4 separate regions of the Homo sapiens genome follow, and regions 2, 3 and 4 are each linked to region 1. The links are contacts of gene promoters, found by promoter capture Hi-C in human tissues and cell types (Jung and others, 2019). All regions are on one chromosome and are shown on one strand. Each heading gives the region's core, a stretch centred on a gene start or on the middle of the fragment in contact. The rest is flanking DNA. Distances are from core to core; before and after follow the strand shown. Region 1 holds the start of LRP1B (LDL receptor related protein 1B). Region 2 overlaps KYNU (kynureninase). Region 3 overlaps LRP1B (LDL receptor related protein 1B). Region 4 overlaps LRP1B (LDL receptor related protein 1B).

Region 1 (2,844 bases), core at 188-2,687:
TGAATGTAGGAGTCATATTTCAAACACAAAATGGTTGTATTTTCAAGGGAAAGTAAACTTTATAATTTAAAACATGGAAAAAGTGACATAAAATACATTTATAATCACAGAGTAAGAATAAAAAGGTGAAATCCACAGATTATTGACAATGTTCTGCAAAGTCATCTCTGTGTTCTTTCATCTAGTCCAGTTTTTAATGGCTTCAAAGGAGCATCTAAAGATATTTCTGGATAATTTTACTCTCATAAATAGGTAGATAGTAATGCTGGCATTCACTTATAAGTCTCAAACAGCAAAGTAAATAAAGCTTTTAAAGCATCTTCCTTCACTTTTCAATCGTTCTCTTCCTTAGTTCTGTTCCCTTCTCATAGTTTTCCTCTCCACTCATGTCCAGTTTCAAAATATTAAATATAAAACCTTTTCAACTCTTGTTCTTAGAAGAGAATTCCTGATGTTACAAGGAAGAAAGTAAGTCTACAACTATTAAGATTTCTGAGTTTTAATTCCGTAGCCACTTTGTAATGGCAAACTAAAATTTTAGGGACTGGGATGATCATGTTGTAAACTTAAGTGGTCATAAAAACAACTTTACTAATATTATTATTCCAGTGATTCCCGTTGATGCCTCCGATGGCTCGGGAAAGTTCTTACACCGCCCCTGTAGTATATGGAAAAGGAAAACAAAACAAAACACAAAACAAAAACAACAAAACCCTCAAAGCCTGTTTAAAATGGCTCGAAGTACCCTTTTAAAGACAGAACCCCAGAGAAAAACGCTGCCAATTCGTTGCTTTATTGTTCCCTGCCTGGGGACCTCAATAGCCTTTTCCATTAACCTTCCCTTCTTACGCAACGGTTAATGACTTTGGGGGTTGTTTTGCTTTCTGTTTCTGCTGAGTCACTAAATTTTGCCTCTTTGTCCCCAGGTGCTGCTCAGCATAAAAGTTAAAAGTGCAATTCAGGAAGTACTGGGATTCTGTGTAGAGCCGAGGAAACCATTTCCCTAAGAGAAGCTCTGTTCCTTGGCTTGTCCTTCCTTCCCGGGAAGGAAGCTTCCGAGGAACGAAGGGAGAAGCTTTGTTTTGCCTGCAGAAGCAGCCCTGTGCTCGGCTGAGGGTTCTCAGCTGGCTGTGAACTGCGGAGCATTGTAGGCGCCTGGCTGGCTCAGGCCAATGCAGAAGTCTCTCCCTTCTCCAAAGACCCAAATCCCCACAGAACCAGCTTCGAGTTACTTTCCCTTCAAGGGGATTAAAATAATTGTGATTTGTGGCGCTCTCCGTTCGCGGTGGTATTTTCCTGTTGTGTTAAATGCCTCTTATTAAGTAATAGATGTGATTTATGTGAACGACGAAGGGGTGTGTGGTGGATTCGGTGATTAATCAGTGAATTCCCATCCGCTGGCATCTCTCACTGCCCCTCTTGCGTGATGTAAGATCAGACGTACCCTGCATTGAAAAGTCAAGACACACGGGCGTCTCGCTCGCGCTCACACACGCTCTGCCTCCTCTCTCCCGCACGCGCGCATCCCTCCACCTTCCACATCCTGCTCCAGGCAGGAGAAGGCTGACTGGCTGGACTCATTGAGCTGAAGAATTTCCAGTGACATTTGTAAATGACGCCGCTCGATTCCAGGCTCCAAGCGGCCCCTGCCGCCGCCGCCGCCGCCGGGCCGAAGGTGCCGCCGAGCAGTCTCCAGCGCAGGCTTCCTTACCGGGCGACCACAATGTCCGAGTTTCTCCTCGCCTTACTCACTCTCTCGGGATTATTGCCGATTGCCAGGGTGCTGACCGTGGGAGCCGACCGAGGTAAGGAGAACACCTCCCCGCTCCCCTCCCCTGACTTCCTTGGCTTTCCTGCTGGGCGATGCTTGCAGATAAGTGAGTGTGAAACTTAAGTCCTTGCAGCTCCGCTCCCCGGGACCGGGTGACCACCGTGCGCTGGCCCTGTGCGGGGGTGAGAGGTGCGGTGCGGGATTTCTGAACCAAGTGCCTGAGTCCTCGGCACCCCCACAGCTTTTCCCTTTGGCCGTTTCCCGGTCCCCATTTTGTCCCCTCCGGGAGTGTGTGCACTTGGCTGTGCGCTTCTGTCCGCGAATTCTAAGCGCTGCAGATGTTGGAATGAGAATTCGCATTTCCGAAAGACTTCCCTCCGCGATGGCCCTCAACTGCGAGCTTTTGCGAGCTCCAGGTTCTCCGCGTTAAGCGTGTCCGCCCTCAACTTAGCTCCCAGGTTAACTTCCTTACCTGCTGCATTCGAGGTCCGTGGAGCGGCGAAAGCGCCGATTCAGGCCCCTTTCGTTTCTATAGCCCCTTCCTGGGGGCAGACTGGGGTCAGAGTCCTGTCATCAGCAGAGAGGCTTTTAGGACGATTCCGGGCGCACGCACCTGCTTGAAATTGACTTTTCGATTATGAGGGTCTGTGACACAGCCCAGGTGCTCTGAGGGGCTAACCCACCCCTGGAGTGCCTCTCTCCAGTCTGGCGCTTTGCTTTTCCTTTTTCTCCAAGCAGCTGGTGAATGGTAGAAGTTTAGAAGGGAATGGATATGGGGAGCAGAGGAGAAAGGAGGTAGGAATTAGAAAAAGCCGGGATTCTATAAACTTTTCATCTGGAAAATCAAGAATCCCTGTGCGAGTTTAATAATCTTTGACAACAGATGCACTGGTGAAAAAGGGAGGAAAATACTAGATGAATATTTGGGGCACTGGCCCTGGCCTTGGAATGGTTAACTGGTTAAAGTAAAATCAGAAGTATCATAGATTTTTTTAAAATCAGAAAATGAGCTTATATTGACTGGTATAGTTCAGCTTTTTAGTTTAAATAAGAGAGAGAGAGAGAGAGAGAGA
Region 2 (2,844 bases), core at 103-2,602, 860 kb before region 1:
GAAGTGAAATATATAAGTCAGTGTTCCCCTGAACAAATGTGCAAAAGACGATCTCTTCATACAATGTTAACTGTACAGTTGGGACAAGCATGGTATAAAGTTATAATTTTTTAAGTCTTTTTGCTGAAATTTCTGGATGTTTATTTTTATTCTTTCTGGGACTTTCCTGGGAATTGTTTGATGCATATTGTTTTTCTAATGTTGTTGCCAAATAGTAACAACTCTTATTTCTTAACCATGCACTGAAGTCAGCCAGCCTTTTCAACTGGTTCTTTTTCACCAGCAAATTACTCTTTACAATAAAGGAGATAATTCAAGCCCTTAATAAGGCCTTTAAAATGTCATCACTGTTTAAAACTTTCAATCAAATACCTCTAGCTGATTATGGAAATGTGTTGGCATGATTTAAAATTCAAGTATTTTTATCAAAATTGTCAGTCGGCCCCATTCTTGCCCATTCAAAAAAGCTCAGAAGAAAAGTATCCCAAGGGAAATGTGCATTTTAGGAGAATCTAATACAATGGGCACATGTGGAGGTTTGCTACACCAGCGTGAAGAGTGAGGAACAGCAGGTTTTCAGTATGTATGATTTCACTGGCTCACATAAAAAAGTAAATGATAGATGGATTTGTAATACCTCATATTATCCACTCCTGTTTTCATAGTAGACTCTCTATTAACAAAAAAAGAGGGAGGTGGTATCTTAAATCGCAATGTATGGGCTCTTACAGAAGAATCCTTTTAAAGGATTCACAAAGCTTTGAATCCCCTAAAGTTGAAAGGTTAAATAGTCCTCTAAAGTGTGCCATGAGGGTTAACATTTGTAACTTTTTTTAAAACATTCAAAATTTACAATGTTATTTAAGCATGTTTTTAGTGAAACATTTCATATTGTCAAATTTGTACAATTAAGAGTAGTTCCCTTCATATTTCAGAGCAATAATTAACTGTGTAGACTGAATTAAAGTCTACCTTGAAGTGGGGCAAAAACATCCAAGAAGTCATGACCAGTCCTAATTTATTGTACAGACAGAGTTTAGAATATGACATTGCAATGAGCTAAGTTAATAATGAACTAGGAAAAGGTTAAATTCTAGGTGAGAATAACAGCTTGAGTTATGATGCTTAATGCCGTGCGTTGACTCTGGCCTCTAATTTATTCATTCTCTTTATGGGCAAAGGGCTCTTGGAAAAGCCTTAGGTCATAGGTTTTGAACAATGTCCAAAATGCATATTTAAACAAAAAAGGAAGTGAAATCTCTTGGTACAGATGCAATTTGCTGTTTGCTAATGGAAACATCACATAAAGGACTATTTCAAAAATTATATACCAAATATTAGACTTCTAAAATGCAATGTTATATATCTGGGGATACACTCTCTACACCAGGTGGGTCACCCATGCTTATAATTCCTTTCTTAGACCAGCCTTCATGAACTGTTAAGCTTTCTGTTTAACCAAGCACTAAGAATGCCCCCTCAGGTTTCCTTCCAATTTTCATCACATTCTACCTCTTTATTGAAGGCTTAAACTGCACAATTATTGCACTATCAACATATAGTCAAATTGTCAAAAAGAAGAACACATAATTCAAACATATATACTTCAAAATACTTGTTAAAGAGTGAATGAGTGGACCATGAGAAGAAATGTTATTTCGATATTATTTATTTGAAATAACATGTTTAGCCACTAGATGTCACCCTTTTTAAGCAACAAAGACTACTTCACAAAGTGTGACATCAATAGCAGTTACATTTGTTCCACTGTATTTGATGTTCTCCATATGGTTCTCGGCTACATACTGGACACTTTAACAGTGAAAAACTCTTTGGTCTCTCTAAAGCTCTAAGAGAACAGAAAAGTAAGATGACAGAAGGCTTATTAAACATAGTTAAACCAGCTAATCGTGGAATGCTAACAACTGAAATATAATTATTAATTGGCAAATAGAGTCAGTAGTCATACAGACTCTAAAGTTTACTCAAAGTTTAAATTGGATTTGACCGTGGAACTATAAATATTATTCACAAGAAAACTTCCTCTCCCCATCTTCACAATATTTTATGTATGGAACATTGTCGTAACATCTGAACAATTACACTTATTTGAGCAGCGTGATATTGTAGGCTTTTGGGTCTTTTCTTTGTTTATCACTCTTCTCACAGGTGGTATTTGATTTTCAGGTGAATAAAAAAGTAAAACACACTAAGGGACACAAAGTTAAGTTTCAGCAAAACATTTCTTTTCCTATCAGGGACAATGAAGTGATGACTGGAAAATACCTTGTCCTTGACTTGTCCAAATCTGTTGCATTCCATTCCTAATTAAAGAACTCCGATCTCCTAATGCAAATGAAGTACAATATAAGATACTTGGTACAGAATAGAGAGCCAAGGCTAGAAGTTGACAGCACTGAGATCAGTCACTGACATCACTTAAAAAGAAGCTTAGGAGTGTGAGAAAACAATAAACAGAAAAACAACCAAGGTTTTCCTTAACGTGGCCTTCATGAGTCAAGCCTAATTTAAGTCCCATAAATTTCCATGGCTAAATTGTTAAAATGCAACAACAGCTAATAACATATAATTTTCCAAAAAACTTAAAAGCAAGGTTCTCATACACACACAAAATAAACAGCCATGAAAGATCTCATTCAACCCACTAAATAGTGGCGGAATCAGTAAGATGGTAGGAAGGCCAGAATTCTTTCTTATAGCATATAAGAGAGATTATATCTCCAAGGAATGGAGATTATATTCTACAGTCAGCTCATCAAAGGTCTGCTAAAATAAACTTGGTGATAGTTACAAACTAATGTCCTACAAAGTCACAAACCATAA
Region 3 (2,844 bases), core at 94-2,593, 590 kb after region 1:
TTCTTTTAGAGACAGGATCTTGCTCTTTCACCCAGGGTGAAGTGCGGTGGTGTGATTGTAGTTCACTGTAACCTTGAATCCCTGGGCTCAAGCAATCCTCCTGCTTCAGCCTTTTCAGTAGCTAGGACTACAGATGTGTGCAACCATACCCAGCTTGTGTTTGTTTTTAAGGAAAGAAAATTATATGGTGTAACTTTTTTTTTTTTTTTTTTTTGAGACAGGGTCGCTTTCTTACCCAGGCTGGAGTGCAGTGACACAACCTCAGCTCACTGCAACCTCAACTTCAGCCTCCCGGGCTGAAGCAATCCCCCTGCCTCAGCCTCTTGAGAAGCTGGGACTACAGGTGCATACTGTCATGCCTGAATAATTTTTTTTTTTTGTATTTTTTGTAGAGACAGGGTTTCAGGATGTTGGCTAGGTTGGCCTCAAACTTCTGGGCTCAAATGATCTCCAGCCTTGGCCTCCCAATGTGCTGGGACTACAGGCCTGGGCCACCATGATTGGCCTTGTATAATATTTAAATGTTCAAGAGGGTATGCAGTGAAACTAAGATTATCTGCAAATTCTTCCTGACTACACAGATTCCTCTCCAAGAGACAACCAATTTTACCAAGTTCTTATATTTGCTTATCTTCATAGTAATGGATTTCTATCATTCACGGGTATATTTAGGGTATATGGATAATAAATATATTTAGTTTTTACTCAAATAGTAGCAAACTGTCACGTTGTTCTATACCTTACTCTTTTCACTTAATGAGATAGTTTGGGAATCTTCTGCTATCAGTACATAAAAAACTACCTTAATCTTTTTTAATACCTGAATACCATATGTAACTTTTAACCTTTTCTATGTAAGTTCTTATTTTCAATAGGACTGCAAATAGGCACTAAAAGAAATTAAAGCTAGTTTAACAGAACTATTCTAACTCTATTAGTAGGAAGGAATAGAAAAAAAGGTCATCCACACTTGCCTACCTTAAAAATGAGACAAAGAGAGCAGAGTTTGAAAATGTTCTACCTCTTCCTAATCTGCTGCTAATTCTGTTTTAATACCAGACCTTTACATGATTAACAGTATTATATTCCACATTATCCTGCAATACTTGGAGGCTCTAATTTTTGTAATGTCTTTTTATTTAGGAAAAAGTTCAGATGAAAAATCAAAGCATACAACCTTCTATATCAGAAGTATGGTAGATATCCATTACTATAAAGATAAATATAATATTTCAGGAAGTCATGGTATTAATTTGCTTAAACATTATATGAGAAGAAGTAAAGCTGCATATTTTTAGCCATACAATCTCATGTTAAATATAATAAAATATTTGAATAGATATCTTTAATATTCTTTCCAAATGTGAATTTTAATAGGATGGGAATGTTGACATTAAAAATCATAGAAAGCTTATAATGTGCCAAAAATCTGCCCTAATTCTTTTAGTTAAATTACTTTATTTAATCTTAAAAATAAAGTTAGAAAGCTGGTATTAGTATATTTATTATACATATAAAGATACTGATGGAGAGATGTTAAGTAACTTGTTCAATCTGCAAAGCTTGCAATTGTTCAAATCTGCAAAGGTGTAAGGTTCACCTAGTCATAAATCATATGCTTTCTGTCTGATTTATTCACCATCATTTCATATTTGTTTATCGCAAAAAGAATAGAACATTACATAATTTGAAGTGAAATATTGCAGGAATAATCTTTTAGGGTTGACTCAATGCCAAAAAAGCAAAGCTATTAGAAATTTGCCATGATGCCTGCCATAACTTCTAGAAAATTTCCAGAGACTTTTCCTCCTACAGCAGATATTATGTAATATATATTTAGCAATTTACAGATTTCTAGCTTTCCTCACATGAGAACTTCTTTGAAATGCTTTAAAACACATTAAAAAATAATAATGGAGAATAGAATGAACTTACATTTGACCATTTCTAAGTATCTATTTATGTATTCTATTAGATTACATTTTTTAAAAATATTGTTTACATTTATTTATTTTAGCCAGAGACGTACTCCAAGTTAACTCTAGTTTATAGATTGCAAAGAATAACAACTTGATCTTGTTTGAATTCTAACACTCACAACATGTGTATTATTGAATACATGGGACTGAGAATTAAAATTGAGCTATAAGGATTGTGCTCAATCTGTATGTGTGAATGTTCATAGCAAAAGGGGACAAAAGAGATGAAATTTGACATGATATTTTCACCAAACGACAAACACTTCATGAACACGCTGGACATTGGATTTGGTGGTAGTTAACTATGAATATGAAGAGTTTAGATTAAACAGAGCTTTCCAAATTACTGTTTTTAAGACTTAGCTCAAATGTCATCTTACTTGACAGCTACAGGCAGAATAATTTCATCTGTCTTATTCTTCCAAAGCATGTTTAAAACTAAAACATAAATCTGATCTCATGTCTGTCTCAACAAAAGATGAATTTCTGGATGGCAGAGTCCACTTTCTTGATTATGCCTGTATTCAAATACAGTAAAACACCTGGAACCTCTATTGGAAATGTTTGTTGAAGAAATTGACATTGTTTGAATTTTAATAATTCCTCCATAACCTATTGACTTTCTTTTAATAATTAAGGAGTAAGTAGACTTGTTATTCATGTTTTGTTATAAAAAAGCTCCTTGTTTGGAGGGAAGATTTTAACTTGAATGATATCTTTTGGAATATGAAAGTGCTATTTTGGATGTTGTTGTTGTTTTTTTGATGTTATATTTTTTAGCAGCTATATAGTATGTCTTGCATATATTTTCATTTTGTCAACAGGGTTTTCTTTAATATTTATTTGTGCGAACTAAAAATGTAGA
Region 4 (2,844 bases), core at 96-2,595, 560 kb after region 1:
TAGTTATGTTTTTGTTTCTACATATAATAGAAAGTAAGATCCTTAAGGAGCAGCAAGCAAGTCTTAAATATTTGTCTTTATTGCTTAGCATGACTCTGGACAGTTCTATGCTTTTAGTAAATGTTTGTTGAAAGCCTGAATAACATGGAAGCTATTCAGTGATAAACAACTGAACCAATAATATCAGGCACAAATTTGGACAATCACCGTTTGCTCCCCTATAGCTCCCTTTGGCAAAATCTACAACAGAAGAAGAGAGGCAAAGTTCTGCCTTCTTTACTGTTTCCAATATAAATCCAGGCTAAGCCTGTATTAGGAAATTGGTTTCCTAGGGGCCCTTCCACATTTAACCCTAAGAAATTCTAATCAAGGTGAATCTTTAGTAGTCCAGATTTAAGGTCTGTTTAGTTTCCCAGGTAAAATAATGAAAGAGTTCATAAGCAGATTTCCCACATACCTAATGTAATTTCAGAGCATATTCTAAACACTTAGAGAGTCTCTTTTAACATATAATAGTCATCACCTAATTTCTCATCTTTTCTTATTATTTAACATGTAAAAGTTAGGAGAACTCAATGACTTCACAGCAAATACTTTTCCTTGGTCAAATCTAAAAATTAATGTAAATTATAGGTTGAATGCTTTAAGATGTCATTAGGAAACCTACGTAAAAAGAATTGGAAACAGAAATATGGCAACTAGGTGTCCTGAAAATGATTTACTAACAAATATTTTCATATCTATTGGTTTTTGTTCTTTGAAACAAATAACAAAATCCTTAGCCTATGAATGAAGTAGTTATTTTTAGGTAAATGTTTTCTTTCCTTAACAATTTTATATATAATTATTGCAATTCTTCTTGGATAATGTTGTCTTCAGTAGGAAAAAAAAATGATCGCAATTTGTGAATCCTAAAGTAATTAGAAACATGGTCTTATAAGTTTCCTTTCCTTAGACATCTGATGCCATTGCATAGTCAAGGAATTTGGGAGTTTTGTTCAATCAAACTTGCCCTTTTAAAAAGTTTTATTTATAACAACAAACACAATAGAATTATAACTGAATTATACTAAAATGATTTCCTCTTTTTTCTAATTTTCTAATCTTTTTTCATGATCTTCCTATGTAAGAATGCTAGCTGTTGCTGGCCAGGTTGATTGAAGCAAATTAAGATAACCCTTAGTGAACTATAATTATTAACAATGATACAATTTCTTTAAGCAAATTCTGTTCAAAGTGCCTTTATTTCTAGGAATTTACTTTAGTTTTATTTTTAATTTTTTTTAAGAGATGGGAGTCTCAGTCTCTTGTCCAAGCTGGAGTGCAGTGGCATGATCATACCTCACTGCAGCCTCAAACACCTGGGCTCAAGTGATCCTCCCATCTCAGCCTCCAGGGTAACTGGAACAACAGGTGCATGACATTGCACCCATCCAGGAGTTTATTTATAATCAGTAAGAATACTTAATGAGAAAGGGGATGTGGTATTTCCATTTCTTAGATGAGAAAATTAAAACAAAGAGAGGTTGGAGATTTTATATTTATTAGATAGTCACGTTTCACATGAAGTTACTCATACTGGAAGACCACACATAATGGAAAACAAATACCAATAAAGAATGGTGGATACATTTGCATGCCAGTTACACTGATAGAAGATATACAGTTCACCATCATTCTGTCTTCCATATGGAAAATTATACAATTCTTATTAATTTTTAAATTTTATGGGAATGCTCATAATTATGTTTTTGTGCATAAAGTCACTATTTCTACTTTACGTAATTCTCAACATGTCTGATTTTATATAATTTCATTTACTATAAGTGAAAGTTACATCGTTTCTTTAATTATTTCTTCTCTTTGACAGCTTGGGTTTGTTTTTGGCAGAGTTTTAATTTCCCAGTCTGCCCTTTTTTGTTGTTGTTTCTGCAGATTCAGGAGGATATTGGAGGGATCACCTTGCTAGTTCTTTTTTCTTTTTTTTTTTCCTGAAATGTGGCTTAGTGGGTTGACAAAGAACAGTAGTTGTTAAAGTATTTTAATAACATTTTCTGCCAGGCATATTATTAGTGGAAGGTGATTTGCAGCCAGAAATACCTATATTTGAATCCATATAAGGTCATTCCTTGCACCTTTAGGCAAGTTACAACCTCTCTTATAAAATAAGAAAAGCAGCTCATGACTTGGTAAAATAAAGAAATGTAAAGTGCCAGGCAGAGTGCCTGGCAAAAAAAAATGGTGCTCAATAATGTTAGTTATATTTTCAATTATGATTGACCTTAAGAAACTGGTATTTCCAGAAGCACAGCAAGAAGATGTGAGATGAAAGTCAACAGTGATTAAGATTTCATTTCCTGATTAAATATACAAACAGTGTACCTCTTAACTTACCATTATGTAACTTAGTTTAATCTTGGGTTCTGTTTATCCTTGAACTGATATATTTTGCCATTTCATATACGCGTATGCGTAAAGCACAAAATAGTGCAGGAATGTTAGGAAGTGTGGAATGCCATTAACTTTACTACTAAAAGTTTGGGATAAATGAACTACATAGGTAGAAATATGAGTAAGATAGGATGTTCATCCCAATAAAATGATAATAAAATCTTTATTGCATCCCACATCATTACCTGCTGTATTTTGCTTATGTTGGATATAAAGAAAAAAGGTATTGCAGACTCTTTCTCTGCAGCTCTTAAAAGCCTTGATTGATCATCTTTTTGCTCCTTTCCACTTATAATGTCAAGTTCCTTAGGCTTCAGATGAAAGGACAGAAAATAAAAATGTAATGAAAAAATGTATTCTAATTTCATTTGAATCGTGTCTCCCAGGGTGGGG

The links. The method cuts DNA at HindIII sites, captures the fragments that hold promoters and counts their contacts. A contact is called where the count stands out against the background at its distance.
Region 2: a fragment that was not itself captured here is called in contact with the fragment with the promoter of LRP1B in region 1 in 1 of the 25 tissues and cell types used here (lymphoblastoid cells).
Region 3: a fragment that was not itself captured here is called in contact with the fragment with the promoter of LRP1B in region 1 in 1 of the 25 tissues and cell types used here (hippocampus).
Region 4: a fragment that was not itself captured here is called in contact with the fragment with the promoter of LRP1B in region 1 in 1 of the 25 tissues and cell types used here (mesendoderm cells).

Annotation. Positions count from the first base shown.
Region 1 is chr2:142,129,609-142,132,452 of GRCh38, reverse strand. LRP1B (LDL receptor related protein 1B) reads left to right here and starts at 1,437. Exons shown (of 91, transcript NM_018557.3): 1 at 1,437-1,805. The coding sequence starts at 1,724. RefSeq lists an enhancer at 370-1,569. The HindIII fragment of the contact is 3,160 bases long and covers 1-2,517 here.
Region 2 is chr2:142,988,347-142,991,190 of GRCh38, reverse strand. All of the region lies in intron 10 of KYNU (kynureninase), which reads right to left. Among named protein-coding and RNA genes, the nearest start is that of KYNU, 110 kb to the right of the region's middle. The HindIII fragment of the contact is 3,561 bases long and covers 1-2,844 here.
Region 3 is chr2:141,540,889-141,543,732 of GRCh38, reverse strand. All of the region lies in intron 2 of LRP1B (LDL receptor related protein 1B), which reads left to right. Among named protein-coding and RNA genes, the nearest start is that of LRP1B, 590 kb to the left of the region's middle. The HindIII fragment of the contact is 4,219 bases long and covers 1-2,844 here.
Region 4 is chr2:141,565,303-141,568,146 of GRCh38, reverse strand. All of the region lies in intron 2 of LRP1B (LDL receptor related protein 1B), which reads left to right. Among named protein-coding and RNA genes, the nearest start is that of LRP1B, 560 kb to the left of the region's middle. The HindIII fragment of the contact is 3,131 bases long and covers 1-2,844 here.